Linked DNA regions of Homo sapiens: all the other regions are linked to region 1. Evidence: promoter capture Hi-C in 16 types of primary human blood cells and fetal thymus (Javierre and others, 2016). All regions are on one chromosome and are shown on one strand. Each heading gives the region's core, a stretch centred on a gene start or on the middle of the fragment in contact. The rest is flanking DNA. Distances are from core to core; before and after follow the strand shown.

The links. The method cuts DNA at HindIII sites, captures the fragments that hold promoters and counts their contacts. A CHiCAGO score of 5 or more calls a contact.
Region 2: the fragment with the promoter of C11orf65 here is called in contact with the fragment with the promoter of ZC3H12C in region 1 in 1 of 17 cell types (monocytes); the score reaches 5.1 in monocytes.
Region 3: a fragment that was not itself captured here is called in contact with the fragment with the promoter of ZC3H12C in region 1 in 1 of 17 cell types (total B cells); the score reaches 5.4 in total B cells.
Region 4: a fragment that was not itself captured here is called in contact with the fragment with the promoter of ZC3H12C in region 1 in 2 of 17 cell types (M0 macrophages and M2 macrophages); the score reaches 7.3 in M0 macrophages.
Region 5: a contact is called between a fragment that was not itself captured here and the fragment with the promoter of ZC3H12C in region 1, in 1 of 17 cell types (M2 macrophages). The highest score is 5.4, in M2 macrophages.

Annotation. Positions count from the first base shown.
Region 1 is chr11:110,092,004-110,094,867 of GRCh38, forward strand. ZC3H12C (zinc finger CCCH-type containing 12C) reads left to right here and starts at 1,389. Exons shown (of 6, transcript NM_033390.2): 1 at 1,389-1,429. The coding sequence starts at 1,409. RefSeq lists silencers at 599-658, 959-1,218, 1,279-1,748. The HindIII fragment of the contact is 5,266 bases long and covers 1-2,864 here.
Region 2 is chr11:108,466,007-108,468,870 of GRCh38, forward strand. It overlaps C11orf65 (chromosome 11 open reading frame 65), which reads right to left and starts at 1,523. Exons shown (of 9, transcript NM_152587.5): 1 at 1,465-1,523. RefSeq lists enhancers at 742-1,594, 1,535-1,679 and a cis regulatory region at 1,607. The HindIII fragment of the contact is 4,195 bases long and covers 687-2,864 here.
Region 3 is chr11:111,501,914-111,504,777 of GRCh38, forward strand. All of the region lies in intron 1 of BTG4 (BTG anti-proliferation factor 4), which reads right to left. Among named protein-coding and RNA genes, the nearest start is that of MIR34BHG, 7.3 kb to the right of the region's middle. The HindIII fragment of the contact is 2,053 bases long and covers 494-2,546 here.
Region 4 is chr11:108,689,398-108,692,261 of GRCh38, forward strand. DDX10 (DEAD-box helicase 10) reads left to right here. Exons shown (of 18, transcript NM_004398.4): 8 at 2,479-2,641. It also overlaps the pseudogene RPS2P39. Among named protein-coding and RNA genes, the nearest start is that of DDX10, 26 kb to the left of the region's middle. The HindIII fragment of the contact is 1,540 bases long and covers 705-2,244 here.
Region 5 is chr11:108,732,010-108,734,873 of GRCh38, forward strand. The region is part of intron 13 of DDX10 (DEAD-box helicase 10); the gene reads left to right. The region is part of intron 2 of LOC124902750 (a long non-coding RNA gene); the gene reads right to left. Among named protein-coding and RNA genes, the nearest start is that of DDX10, 68 kb to the left of the region's middle. RefSeq lists an enhancer at 1,763-1,882. The HindIII fragment of the contact is 570 bases long and covers 1,188-1,757 here.

The DNA.
Region 1 (2,864 bases), core at 139-2,638:
GACAGTGGATTTAAAGCAGGCTATTTGGCCCGTGGCATATGGTAGGGGCACAACCCATTCAGTGTCCCTCCCTCTCACTCCAGAAGCAGACTCATCCTGCCCTAGGCTGCTCGTAATGATTCCAAGGACAGGCGAATAAGGTTATTTGAACATTTCTGAAACATTGACTTAGTTTGTGCTGGGTGTTGTACGATTCACAGAAGTAGAAAGGCTCTCTGCTCCCGGTGCTTTTCAGCCTGCGATTCAGGCGCCCACCTCTGTGCAAAGGGCTGTTTCCTTCCGATCTCCTGAAAGAGATCTGGATGTATCTTGGGTTCAACCTCGATTTTGACACGATTGCCATTTCCATCAAAGCCAATTTCCTTGCTGAAAGAAGTCCTATCCCTGGGTGAAATCCCAACAGCTTCATTTGTTTAAATTCTTTTATTGGCCTTGCTAATGCAGGGTGTGGTTTTTCCTCATCACGGAATATTGATAAGTAAACAACTACGGGGAACCTGCCCTAAGAAGGCGGCCCGTCGATCTCCTTGACTGCCCGGGACATGATCAGTGTTACTGCTGGGTGGAGAAGGTGTCGCCGAGCGGAAAGGCGCCGTCCTGCACCAGGTCGGGGGAGAGGCGCGGGGAGGTCGGGACCGCTGGGTTGGGCCGGGGCAGGGAATAGGCGCGAGGGGAGGCGGCGCGGGAACCTCGGGCAGCCCCAGCGGCTGGGTCGAGCCCGACAGGTTCCAGCAGCTCCCCTCACCCCTCTCCACGCCTCTCGGGTTTTCCCCTTGGCTCAGGGTTTCCTGTTTCAGTTCTCGGCGTTCTCCAGCAGCAGGTGCTGGTTTGCCAACCTCGGCTCCAGAGGCGGCGACGGAGGAGAAGGAAAAGAGGGAAGGGGAGGAGGAAGCGGCGCGGCTGCGGTGGCTGCGGGCGGGCGGGCGGGCGAGGAGCGCGGAGCGAGGTGGCGGAGCCGGGTTCGCTCTCGCCCGCGGAGCAGCGGCACGGACGAAGGGCAGGGCCGAGCCGAGCCCAGCGCTCGGGCGCGCCCGAGCCGGGGCCCTGGCGTGCGGCCAGCTGTCCGGGCGGGAGGCATGAGGGAGCCTCGCGCTCGCCCCGCGCCCTAGCGGCGGCCGCGGCAGCCCAGGGCTGAGGCGAGAGGCGGCCGCCTGCCGGAGGGCCCCGGGGCTGCCCCAGCTCCAGGGCATGTAGTGATGGCTGCGGAGAAGAGAATGCAAGTAGGTTGAGCAACAGATTCGAGTGCGCGCGCGTTGGGGCTGTGAGTTGTGCAACCCAGGGAGGGGGCGCCGGGGCTGCGGCCCGCGGAGAGGGCGCGCGGGCGGGCGCGGCTTGGCGCGGGAGGGCCGCGGTGGCCGCTTCTCCGCGGGCCCCGCCGCCCGCTCGCCGCTTTCTCGCGGGGCTGGCTATGCCGGGTGGCGGCTCCCAGGTTTGTCCTCGGGAAGGGGGTGGGGGACGCGGACCGCGGCGAGAGTGGTCCTGGGGTAGCCGGTCGTGGGGAGGGCCGCGGGGCCGCGCCCGGGCGCCAGGCGGAGGGCGCCGGGGCCGCAGCGACCTCGCCGTGTGATCTCCAGGCCCAGGCGGGTCGGGCTCCGGAGGTCGAGTCACCGAGCTCCGGTCGCTCAGGTGGGGCCGAGCGGAAAGCCCAGCGCATCCTCCCCTCGGGCAACGCCGTCCCCGCCGGGATTTCGGGCGAGGTGAGGCCGGGCTTCCCGGCCCCGCGGCCTAAGGCACCGGTCCCCGCCCGCCCGGGGGCATAGATCGCGAACATGGAGGCGGGCTCGGGCGCCGCGGATGGAAACGGACACACTGCGCTGCCCCAGCGGCTCAGACTCGCGCGCGCTCGTGGGGCGAGACATCTCTTGGCATCTCGGATCCAGCCCTGGCCATTCGCTTAACTATCCATCCCTCCATCCAGATCGCCAGCAACCCCAGGCCGAGCGTCACGAAAGCCCCTCACTCCCCCCTCGTCCCTCCTTCACCCCCAGGCTCCAGTCCAGATCCCTTTTACACGCTGCGTTCATTTTAGCTCGGCTGTTCACATTTTTAACTCCGTATTAAGAAGTGTTACAAATATAACTTGGAGAAATGAATCCCGCATTTCTTCCCTAAGCTGTCTCATTTCAAGTCCTTAAAAACAGCCCTAACATCCAAGTACTGATTACTCTGTCTGGGGTTCTTGCCATTTGGTTATCCGTTAACAATCTCGGTTTGTGTTCGGTGTTTTGTGATAAAGAGATGAAAGACGAATCCAGATTTAGGAAAAGTTTTCCTATTGGTTGACAAGACTGTATTGGAGTATCCCAGGCCCATCAGGCGCTTATTGATTCAGACTTTTTTTAAACCATTTTAGAATAGATGCAGAGATAATTGGAGCTAAGTATTGTATGTTTAGGAATTTGGCAACGTTGTTCAGTTTTTCACTTGTTACGTGCTTGAGTTTTTCCACTTTTAAAATGCATATTATAAACGGAAAACGAGATAAACCTCAAACACAATTTTTGACTTTTCAAGAACCACAAGAAGTCATAAATACAGTGTGTTATAAATGTTTTTGTCTTAATGGACTTAGGATTTAGAGGGTATGACTTCCATTCATTTAATCACATGTACAATTAATTTTAGTAGCAGTTTCTTAAGTTTAGGGTTCTCTGTGTTTGACTACATGATAGCTTCATCAAACATTGGTAAAATTAATCTTAGTGTGATAAGCCCAGGAAGATGCCTATTTCGGACTTGACCCCCTGTTCACCTGTTTTCTTCAACAATTTGGCATGCTTATTTCCAGTTACCTAAATCTGTCTACTGGATGGTACCATAAAAATAGAATGGCCTGTTGACTATGTACCCATAGTTCAAAATGT
Region 2 (2,864 bases), core at 273-2,772, 1.6 Mb before region 1:
CAACAAAAAACGACAGATTCTAAAGCATGTTAAAATGTACCATCCAGTAGTGAGGGAGAAATTAAAGTGACGGAGAACTTAAAGGGGCAAAAAAAGGGATAAGTTAAATGGTAAAACCTTTGAGTAGGTGTAAGAGGACACCATCTGGAGCAGAAAGGAGGGTGGGACCGTTGCTGGCTTTAGATAAGAAATAAGATCGACTTTATATGGTTATTATGATGCTCCAGATAAAATAACCATTGTGAAAACCCTTCATAAGTTTTAAGATACTAAAATGTACTACCAGGCCGGGTCTGGTGGCTCAGGCCTGTAATCCTAACATTTTGGGAGGCCAAGGTGGGCAGATCACCTTAAGTCAGGGGTTTGAGACCAGCCTGGCCAATATGGTGAAACCCTGTCTCTAGTAAAAATACAAAAATAAACTGGGTGTGGTGGCGCACACTTGCAGTCACAGCTACTCGGAAGGCTGAGGCAGGAGAATAACTTGAACCCAGGAGGCAGAGGTTGCAGTGAACTGAGATCACGCCACTGCACTCAGCCTGGGCAACACAGCGAGATGCCTTCTCAAAAACAAACAACAACAAAAAACTAACCAAATAAAATGTACTATCAAACAACTGCTCAGGCAATGAAGTATTTTACTACACCCATGTGCCACTTGTAGATTCACAGATAAGTATTTTCCAAGCTTATTATATCCCTAATCAATAAAATTTTTTATCATAATAGATGATGTTTTCACTTATTTATTTTTACGCTTCGTGGAAAAAAGCCCACAAGACGTGTTTGGATTCTTGGTTTCACTTTTAAAGCAGCAAACAATCTTTACTTTGCTTGAATTGGAACCTGTATACGTCCTATTTTGTTTCCTCTACTAAATTTATTGAATAAACAAATGATTCGCGTGGCCTTTATAAGTTTCGTAATTTCGCTTTTCCTTTTTACCTGTGGTCCTTGATGCTAGGGGCAGGAGAAGAAAAACTAACCTATTCTTTAAAAACGCGTTTCCCTTTTCCATCTCTAAAAAAACTGAAAAGACGTAAAACAAATGGGAGGGGGCAAAGGAAAGAAATGAGGAAAAATCTAAGGAAGATTAATGTGTACTTCCCGGTCAGCGGGAAGGTGGACGGAGTAATATCTTTGCGGAGGATTGGGGTGTGGGGATCTGTGAAGGCGCAGTATGAGCAGTAAGGACTTGTCAACCAGCCCGACGCAACTTCACCGAGGGCGAGGAAAGGAGCTCTGAGGAAGGGGTTACTCCCGGGCAGGACTGTAAACCAGCTGGAGGCCTCGCTGGGAGGGCTTTAGAGGAATGAAACGTCCTTAAGAGGGGCGGATGGGGAATGGTATCAAGGGTATGGGTTCTTTAGGGCCTTGAAACAACGAAGGCTCAAACCAGTGGGCACAAAGGCTACCGGAACAGTAGTACGCGCTGAGAGAAGGGACACTATTCCCTTCACCTACCAATCGCTGCTGGCCCGGGCGCCGCTGGACTCCTAGGTAACGTCGCAGGCGGAAATGACGTAACTCAATCCGTTCTGTCCCGCCCCATTGCCCTCCTAGCCCCGCCTTCTAGGCCCCGCCTTTCCTCTATTCGCGCTCTGACAAAGTGCAGGGGATATAGACCAACCGCTTGTGAAGGCTGCTGGTTCTGTTAGAAGCCCGCTTTCGATTGTCAGTGGCTTTGAGGCAAAGGATTTTGGAAGGGAAAGCAAAGTGATTGTCTACGAAGTTGGGCTTAGTATATAATAAAGCCCAGTCATTTCAACCAAGAACCTTAAAGATGTTGAGAAATATAATGAAATATTTTCTATTAATTTTTGTAAAATTTTTCTTGAGATAGGGTCTCAATCTGTGGCCGAGGCTGGAGTGCAGTGGCGCGATCTCGGCTCACTGCAGCCTGGAACTCCCCTGGCTCAGGTGATTCTCCCACGTCAGCCTCCCGAGTAGCTGGGACCGTAGGAGTGCACCACCACGCCAGGCTCATTTTTCTATTTTTATTAATAGTGGCGACAGGGTTTCTCCATGTTGTCCAGGCTGGTCTTGAACTCCTGGGCTCCAGCGATCCCCCCCTACCCCATCTCCCGCCTTGGCCTCCCAAAGTGCTAGGATTACAGGCGTGAACCACCGCGCCCGGCCTATTTAATTAGTTTAATTTATTCATTTGAAAATGAGACAACTGATCCTTCTAGCTATTTGACAGGTCTTGCTCAAGGTCAAAGAATACGTGACTTGCAGTCCAATGTTATTTCTAAATGTAAGCTCTTCAGCTGGTTAAGCTAAACTGCTTTAAGTGAAAACAGACGACCTCTTGAATGAGTTTTCAAATGACCTTAAATAATGCAAGCACTGCTTATCTAAAGCAAGTCTGACTTGCTTGAATTCTGAGTCTGACACTTTGGCAGTGCTTTAGTTGGTCACAGATTATTGCAATGTGAAAAAATCTTGTTCAGAACTGCCCAGTTTTGCTATGTTCGTCCTATGTTCATGCATGGAATATAATTTGTTTGTAAGGAAGATAAACTTTTAAGGAGGGAAAAGAAACACCTGAAGAGAAATTTCCCTGTATAATGAAAACATTTGTACAGAAAAAATTCTTGGTAGGTTAATTCAGTGACTCACTGAACTTCCAGAGTTCTTTAAAATCATCACAATCATAAGCAAGGGGTGAGCTTCAGTTCCTCTTTATGTAGTTGCCTTGATGCATTAATACACAGTAGTTATGAACAATAAACTGTAAAAATATAGTCATGGAAACATTATGTATATCTTAATTTTCAATCTAATAGAAACTGGGTTAAAAAATTTAAATTCAGGCCAGGTGTGGTGGCTCACACCTGTAATCCCAGCACTTTGGGAGGCTG
Region 3 (2,864 bases), core at 270-2,769, 1.4 Mb after region 1:
ATTTAAACATCTACTATGTACCCAGAACATATTAAAATAAACAAACGTGAAAGTAGGACCTTAATAATCTTCCAAATCCATAGTATCTTGTTTGTTTCAGCTGTCCATGATGTAGTTGTCATTCCTCTTCCTCAGTGGCTGGGGTACCTAAACTGTTGCACTTTGGAATCACCTGAAGATCTTTTAAAAATACCAATGTCTGCCTCCTATCCCTTACCCCAGACATTTTTTTTTTTTCAACAGAGATGGAGTCTCCCTATGTTGCCCAGGTTGGTCTTGAACTCCTGGGCTCAAGGAACCTTCCTGCCTTGGCCTCTCAAAGTGCTAGGATTACAGGTGTGAACCACCACGCCCGGCCAAGACATTCTGACTTAATTGGTATAGAGTGCAACCTGCACATCAGGATTTTTAAAAGTTCCCCAAGCGATTCTAACGTGCAGCAAAAGTGGAAATCATTAAGATAGATACCGCCTTAGCTGTGAAGAAGATTTTAAGCTTATTTTACACTTTTGATTGCTTAATAATGCCTTAAGTTTAACAGATTATTAGGACAAATTTGCATCATTTATTCTCGTATTTTCTAGCCATTTGCTAGGGTAACTTTTGCAAAGATTATTTTTTAAAATTTATGTTACAAGGGACAAAGCTGAAAATTAGGGTAACTCCTTGTATACTGCTGAAATTTTGCTTCTGAACTAAAGGCAACAGATGCATTAACAAACACAAAATTTTTTTTCTTTTCAAATGGTCAGTTTGCATTTACAATAATAGAATGGTGCCAGGTGTTTTTATAATTCTTTCATTACTTCATCTTCCTGATGACAAACTGTTCCCTTGCACTTTGAGTTGGTGAAGTACATTAATGAGGTTTTGAACCCTCTCCTAGCATTATTTTCTGCAACAGGCCCAGGCAGGCCTTGAAAGTTATGAATAGAACAGTAGAATAACAATGTACTTAGATTTCAGGAAAGAACAATCAAATAAAAAGTAAACATCATGCAAGGTTTCCTTCCGTTACTTGTTTATGACTTGAAACACCTTATTTAAATCACCTCCTTTACATTAATGACAACTACACCTTCTGTTTTAATTAACACTCACTTAGTGACTATTTACTGACCACCTACTTCACAGACACTAAGTATTAGTGGGGCTGGGGGTAAAAACAAAATTCAACTTTCCTTTCAAGAGGCTTATCATCTAGAGAGGGAAACCAAATACATACACAAGTGACTACTTGGATGTAAAGTTTGGGAAATGAAATACTCAAAATTTACCCCAAGTTTCAAACACTTGTAACCAACAGATTAATGTTATCATTGAAAGAATGAAGTTCAGTGGAAGAGTCGGTATAAAACAAATGGTGATTCATTCAGATTGAGGTATACTGAGCTTTCAATGGCAATTAAATACCCAAGTAGTAATGTCCACTGACAAGATGTCAGAATTTAGCAGAAAGACCAACCTGGTCTGGCCTAAGCCAATCCCAGAGCTAAGTAGAAGAGAAAATTACTGCTGAAATTTGAACAACTCTCCCACTATCCTTGTGTCATGTCTAAAATTCTCATTATAAGACATTTGTTCCCTTGCTTAAAACCTTGTCTTTCAAGGATATCTTTTTGAAAATGTCCAGTGAACTATCCATAGTAGAGCAACAGGATGGTGTTCTGTTTGGGTGAGGGGATTATGTCTGGGCGAAGAACCACAGAAAACAAGAAATAAGAGGTTCTGGCCATTTGGAGTGAGGATGAAGAACAGAAAGGCAGTGAAGCAACATACACATATTTTATTTCCTATTATGCCTGTAACAGAGAATCAAATGGTATAAAACATGAATATGACTGACATGACCTTGTACAAGTAATAGTTTCTAGAATTGCATTCTTCATTTTAAAATTAGGAAATTCAACTTGATGGCTAAGGAATAGTCAAGCCCCAAAGTTCATCGATGAAGGTAAAACTCGAAAATCTGGTTCTACATTTGTCTTCTTGGTTTTTGCTAAACTTCACTTATAAAATGAAAATAGTTATGCTTATAAAAGTTTTAAAATAGACAAAGTAATTTTAAAATATCATCTGAATTGAATGTTAAATTTGCTGGACTTGTGATGTAATAACCAGTCTTATCATAACCCCATTTCATTTCTTTAGCTTCCCTCCCTAAACTACAAGTTATATCCGTAGTCTCACCCCTCCATTCACAAATACATGTTATTGCTAAAGAGGGGAAAGGTATAGATGTTTTAGCAAAAGTCCACTTCTGACAGAAAGTATTTTTTTAACAACAGCAAGCAAGTAGCACTATTTTATAAAATAATGAACTGATTCTGTAACCCACACATAAACTCAGTTCCATTATGGTCAAGCCACATAAAAGGAAGTTACATTAATTGCTGAAACAAAATTGCATTTCCCAAAACATTATCTAATAAAATTCTACAGCCATACAATGTTGATTTGAACTCAAAAGAAATTAATTTTAGTGCAGCCTAATCAAAATAAAATTCCTTTACCAATAATACTAAGCAAGTGTTTTATCCGCCACAAGCTTCTTCCTAATTTGTATTTTCTATCTGCATTACTGAGCATTCACAATGTAAGTGGCATTGTTTGAAAGACCACAAAAAATACATACATTTATATAACGTTTCAAGTTAGAAACCAAGATAACTCCTATTCAACATAGTACTGGAAGTCCTGGCCAGAGCTATCAGGCAAGAGAAAAAAATAAAAGGCATCTGAATTGGAAAAGTAGAAGTCAAATTATCTCTGTTCACTGACAATATGATTGTATACCTAGAAAACCCTAAAGACTCCTCTAGAAGACTCCTTGGCCTGATTAACAACTTCAGTAAAGTCTCAGG
Region 4 (2,864 bases), core at 225-2,724, 1.4 Mb before region 1:
ACCATTTATTTCCATGCCGTATATCTTTGTTTATGCTGATCTGTCTGGAATGCCCTCCCTGCATCTCTTCATCTAAATCTGGGGAAATACTTACTTTGAGGCTAAGTTCAAATGTTATGCCTGAAAGTCCCTTTCTGACACTCCCTTTTTAAAGAATCAGTTGTTCCCTCCCCTAACCTTCTGAAGTGTTTTGTTTATATCTTAGTTAATAAACACTTCTTGAACACTAGCCCTGTGCTAGGAATAAAGAATAAGGATTTCAGAGATGTCTAAGAGAACTTTGTCTCCTCTCTTAAGGAGAAGGGACTACGGTCTTTGTGCATGTGTGCGTGCGTGTGCCTCTTCTCCTGTACTATATTTCAGATTCCCAATGACTTAATAGGGAATGTAGTAGATCAATTCTAGATTTACAGCTTTTGCAATAACTTTCCATGATAAATATGTAGATGGGTTTCTCTCTAGCTTATGGGAAGTTAAGTGGTGATCTGATGCTGTTGTCTACTGAACCTTATTTTACCATGTAAAGAATGACTTCAGCCTTGGTGCGGTGGCTCACGCCTGTAATCCCAGCACTTTAAGAGGCTGAGGTAGGAGGATTGCTTGAGTCTAGAAGTTTAAGACCAGCTTGGGCAAGATGGCGACACCCTGTCTTTAAAAAAAAAAAAAAGACTTCAGTTTTTCAAGGACCGATTTTAGATTTTCAAAGCTTCCAGTCTCCTGGGAGCATTCCTCAAGGCAACTTGGAAGTGTATCCTGAGCAGTAGCCAACAACAAAACAATAAACTTCACATCTCCTAAAGAAGAGTTAGTTGGTTTTGGCATCTAGGTGCTAGGAAATGATTCTGAAAGTTCTATTTAAAGTTCTGTTTAAAGTTTCTACTCTTTAGAGTAGGAGATGGCATCAAAGGTGGCCTTGGCATAGTTGCCCAGGGTGGCAATGCAGCCTCTTGGTCGAGGTATAGCAATTGTCAATACCCACCATCAGCAGCAGCTTCTTGGGCATGGGGCTGAGATGATACCAGTGCCTCCTGAGGTGGGGATAAGTCTCACCAGCACAGAGAGGGTCTGTCACCCTGCAAGGGCTGGTGAGCTTGCCGATCTTGTTCCCCAAGTAGCCTCTTGGCACAAGGACAATGGAGAGCTTGGCCAGGATAATGGCTCCTCAAATGGCAGTGGCTACCTCCTTGGAGCACCTGATACCCGTATCAGTGTGGCCATTGTAGTCCCCAGTGGCAACATGCCTTGAATCCAGTGCGTTGGCCAGTGTGGGCCACTTTTGCGCCATGTAATCTTTGAAACCTCATTCTTGAGAGATGCCCCCAGGAAAATGTCAAGGACCTCAGACTCCTTGATGGGCAGGAGAAGAGATAGATCTCCTCCAGGGACTTGGTCTTCATGTCCTTCACCAAGCAGCACAGCTTTGTGACTGGCATCCACCCCTTGGCTTTGCCTCAGTGGCCTTGGTTGCAGGTGCTATTGCTGAAGCCTCCATCGAAGCCTCTGTGGTTTCCAATTCCTTGTCCCGTGGACCCTTCCGCTGCACCAGCATCATCTGCCATTTGATGTTTTCTTGGAGAAGCTGTTTTTACATCTTTACGAAAGAAAGGCCTAAGTCCAGCTATCTCTGATACTTGCCTGATATATTGTCCCAGAATCAGAACCTCCCTGGCAGTAGCAAATTGCATTTGAGAAAGTGAATGGCTAGTGATTGGGTAACAAGCAATTCACTTGGTTTCCCATTCTTTACTGTCAGCAAAATTGAAGAGAGACTTTAATGGGGTCTTTCTCTTTAATTGAGCGACTGGATCACCAAAAATTATTTGGAATAATCCATTATGACTTTTGGCCTATTTTATAGGAGCTCAGAATTAAACTTCCTTTGAGTTTGTTTTATTTATGTGAACAGATTTTAACCCCCATATTAGAGAAAATAAAATAATGCTGAACTCTTTTCAGTCTAGTAATCCATAGTATCCATTTATGGGTACAAAAAGAGAACCAGAACAATTAGCTCTATATAGTCCCACACATTGAGATATATTTACAATGTTTTTATTTATGTCTAACAGTTTTTTAAATCAAATCCCAACATATTTCTTGGTTTGATCAGTTCTGTATTACTAATTATTTTAATAATTGCTGAGTCTGAGAGGAAAGTTCAGTCAGCCTATGGCCACAGGAAATTAAAATAAGTTTTTTCTTTTGTAGAAAATGAGTTATGATAACATCAATAAAAGGCTTTCAAGCTTCAAACTTAAGATGCAATTCTGTGACGTTAGGAAATAGAAATGTGAATTAAAGGAGGGAAGGAAATTAAATTGCTTGTGATTAAATAAGAGTTTCTTTACTTTTTTTACTTGGTTGGAATTGGGTATCACATTGCTCTGCTGTTGAGACTCTGTGGGATACGTTGATAAGAGAAAAGCTTTATTGCTGCCATCTGCCATAAGCAAACTTATTCTTCTGTTGATGCCCCAGGTCCAGTATCTGTACCGAGTGTTTTGCCGGCTACGTCCTGGTGTTTCTATCCTTGCACTCCATGGTCGACAGCAGCAAATGAGAAGAATGGAAGTCTATAATGAGTTTGTCCGTAAGAGAGCTGCAGTACTCTTTGCTACTGATATTGCAGCCAGGGGTCTGGGTAAGAAAACTTCCTATCATGAAATTTCTGTGATTGTGTGAAATGTAATTTGCTTATAAAGTATATTTTGGGAAATCTGATAGACTCAAACACTTGGGTTTCTTTTCTTATTTTGTAAGAGAAAAGTAAGTAGTAAATTGGTAGCAGTTGACTAACATTAAGGATGTATCAGTGAAAATTTCCACAGTATTTGCATCTTTTTTACTATTTCATGATAATCACA
Region 5 (2,864 bases), core at 223-2,722, 1.4 Mb before region 1:
TAACTTATCCTCTTTATCTTGATTATCTTTTTTTCCCTTTCTTGTCTCTCTGGAAAAAGAAGATTTGTACAAGAACCAAATTGAAACTTGGAGCCAGTAGGAACCCATTGGATTGTAGATTTTATGGAATATGTCTAATAATCATATCATTATAATTAAGACCATAATTATTTGGCATTTTACCATATACTGAACACTTTCTGCATAAGTTCTCATTTTTCCTTATGACAAGAAAGGTAGCTATTAAAATTTCGGAGGAGGAAAGGAAGGCTTTTAAGTGACTTGTCCAAGGTCACAGTGGTGAAGTTAGCAGTTAAACCTATTTGTGATGCTAAGTCACATTTTCTTTCTCTGCTGTCGTGCCTACCATTATTTGTGTGTAGTTTGCTTTCTGTAATTGGGTAATGTCAGTGTAATTGACAGTATTGTAAATAATTTTGGGCTACTCATTGTGTGCGCACACTTGGAGTATAAAATGAATGTTTGCCTTTAGACTTCGGCGTAAATGGAGACGAGAGGTACTGAGTGCCAGGTGCAAGCAAGGCCTTCTGGAATGCTGCCTTGTCACAATCCTTTTCTGTTTGACGAGATCGATGCAGTGAAGGACAACAAGATTTTCTTAGCAGTGGAGAAGTGCCACGAGTGATGAAGCAATAAGACATGTGCAGGAGAGAGCGCAGGTGTAGTGATCAGGCACAAAGGCAGTAAGAGATGGCTGGTTGACCTCCCACCATAGGGAAGAACCTTGTTTTGGCTAATTGTCTTGTTGGGTGTTCAGAAAGTTGACCTCCAGGGAGACAGTGTTAGATAAGAGCATGAACATACAATTAAAATGATTAAATTAAAATTTATTTTTGGAACACTTATTTCCTTAAATGTGAGAATGAAATCTCTAAGCATATGCTTTCTTTTCTTTTTCAGTTTAAACCTTTTTAGAAATGAGACTGGGTAGATTCCATTTTAGCTCAACAAATGTCCTTTTAAAGCTTTCTTAAAAGTAAACATAGGTCAGTTTTAATTAAGATTTGAATGATACCCATAGATTATTCATTGTACCTTAGAGTTGATTCCAGATCCTGTTTACATTGATTTAGTCCTACTTTTTTTTTTTTTTTTAGTAGCTTTTTCTTTTTTTAGTACTGTAAGAACTCACTGTTGGTGTTAAAACACAGATTAGCTAACTTTGAAGCTTATAAGTATACTCTTATAAAAAGATTCCAAGTTCCAAATCAAGATTCTCCTATGTGGGAGCTAGGATGTTTCTGCCTCTTGTCTCTTCACTTTTTCTCTTTCTCTCTTTTTCCCTCCTTTCAGCAGCAGTTACCTAACGGATGCCAGGGACTGTGTTAGGTACTTAGTGACTTTTAGGAACTTGGACTAAGTATTTGTAAAATAAGTACTGGAAAATGATTAACATCTATCAATTTTTTTATAACTTACCATGCACTTTGACTATCATATCTCACTTATTTAAATTCTTACCACAGCCTTGTGTAGTGTTGTTGTCATGTTACAAGTTCAGACACAGGCTTTGACAGGTTCACTTACTTCCTTGCCTAATGTTGCATAGTTAGTGAAGCGCTAGCACTGGAGTCTGTACTTAGGCCCCTCTGACTTGCCTCGGTATGATTGTGCTTGCTTTGATTCCCGTCATTTCTACATTTAGTGGTGGCTTTTAGTGTTCCATTTTCACTTCCCACTTACACTGCCATTCTGCCCCCAGATTCTTATTACCTCATTCTTGGCTCGGGGGGATAAGCTTCATAATTGGTTCTCGTTGTTCTTCTGAGTCATCTTCCTGTGAACCTTGGTCAAATTAGTATTTTTTTTCAAGTGGTTTACCTTCCATGCTACCCTTAAGTTCACCCTTGCAGTTGGGTTTTGTAAGCTAGCCCCTATCCTATTGTCCTGCGAGACCATTCTTCCCAGTTTCCACTTAAACAGTGAAGGATTCCTTCCTGGATTATTTTCTTCCCACTCCAGCATTTCACATCTTTCAAGATGCAGTGCTTATCTTGTCTCTTCTTTGAAGCCATCCCTTACTTCTTCAACCCACTGACCTCTGGATTCCAATGGTCTATTTTGCTAGTATTTTTTTCTTTTTCTTGACATTTCATAATGTAGCCACATGTCTCTTAATTTTTATCTCTTCCATACCTGGTGATTTGTGTTCAGGGGCCTTATGTAATGTTCAGTTGACTTAAACAGAAGGAAGAACTCTAAAGTCAAGACTACTGTACTCCGAATTTTTGCTACCATGAAGTGAAACAATGGTAGCATGATCTCAGATGTTGCCAGCTGAAATAGTTTGGTATATATGCTCATTTGTCTTATAGGTGTCTTTTCTGTTTTTTGGCATCCTGTGCTTAATTCTTTTTTTGTAATCTAAGCTTTGTTCCAATTCAAAAGGAGTTGTTATTGTGTAACATGAAGCTTAGATGCATATATTGAGTTGCTTTATGTATTTTTTTTCCTATTTGAGTTTGGTATGCAGATGACTTCCTGAGGATGTAAATTTTCAGTGGAAAGCTTAAAGCTGGTTTTGGCATGATGTTTATTCTGTAACATGCTGAATCATTATATCAAATATTGAGTCGTTTTCCTTTATCTCCTTCTTTTATACAATATTCAATATTTATAACATCTGCTAACTACTGAATTTTTAAATCTACTTTTGTGGTTGAAGTTTAAACAGCTACTTTTACAGGCCGTATTTATCTTTATTTTAAGGTAGTTACACAGGTAATGAAAGAAATGTGAAATAGGACAGGCTGTTCTTGAAGGTCATGTGAATTGCCCTTTGAACTTGTTATATGATTAGAAATAAGGAGTTTTCAAATTCATAAACAAGTGCTTGTTTATAT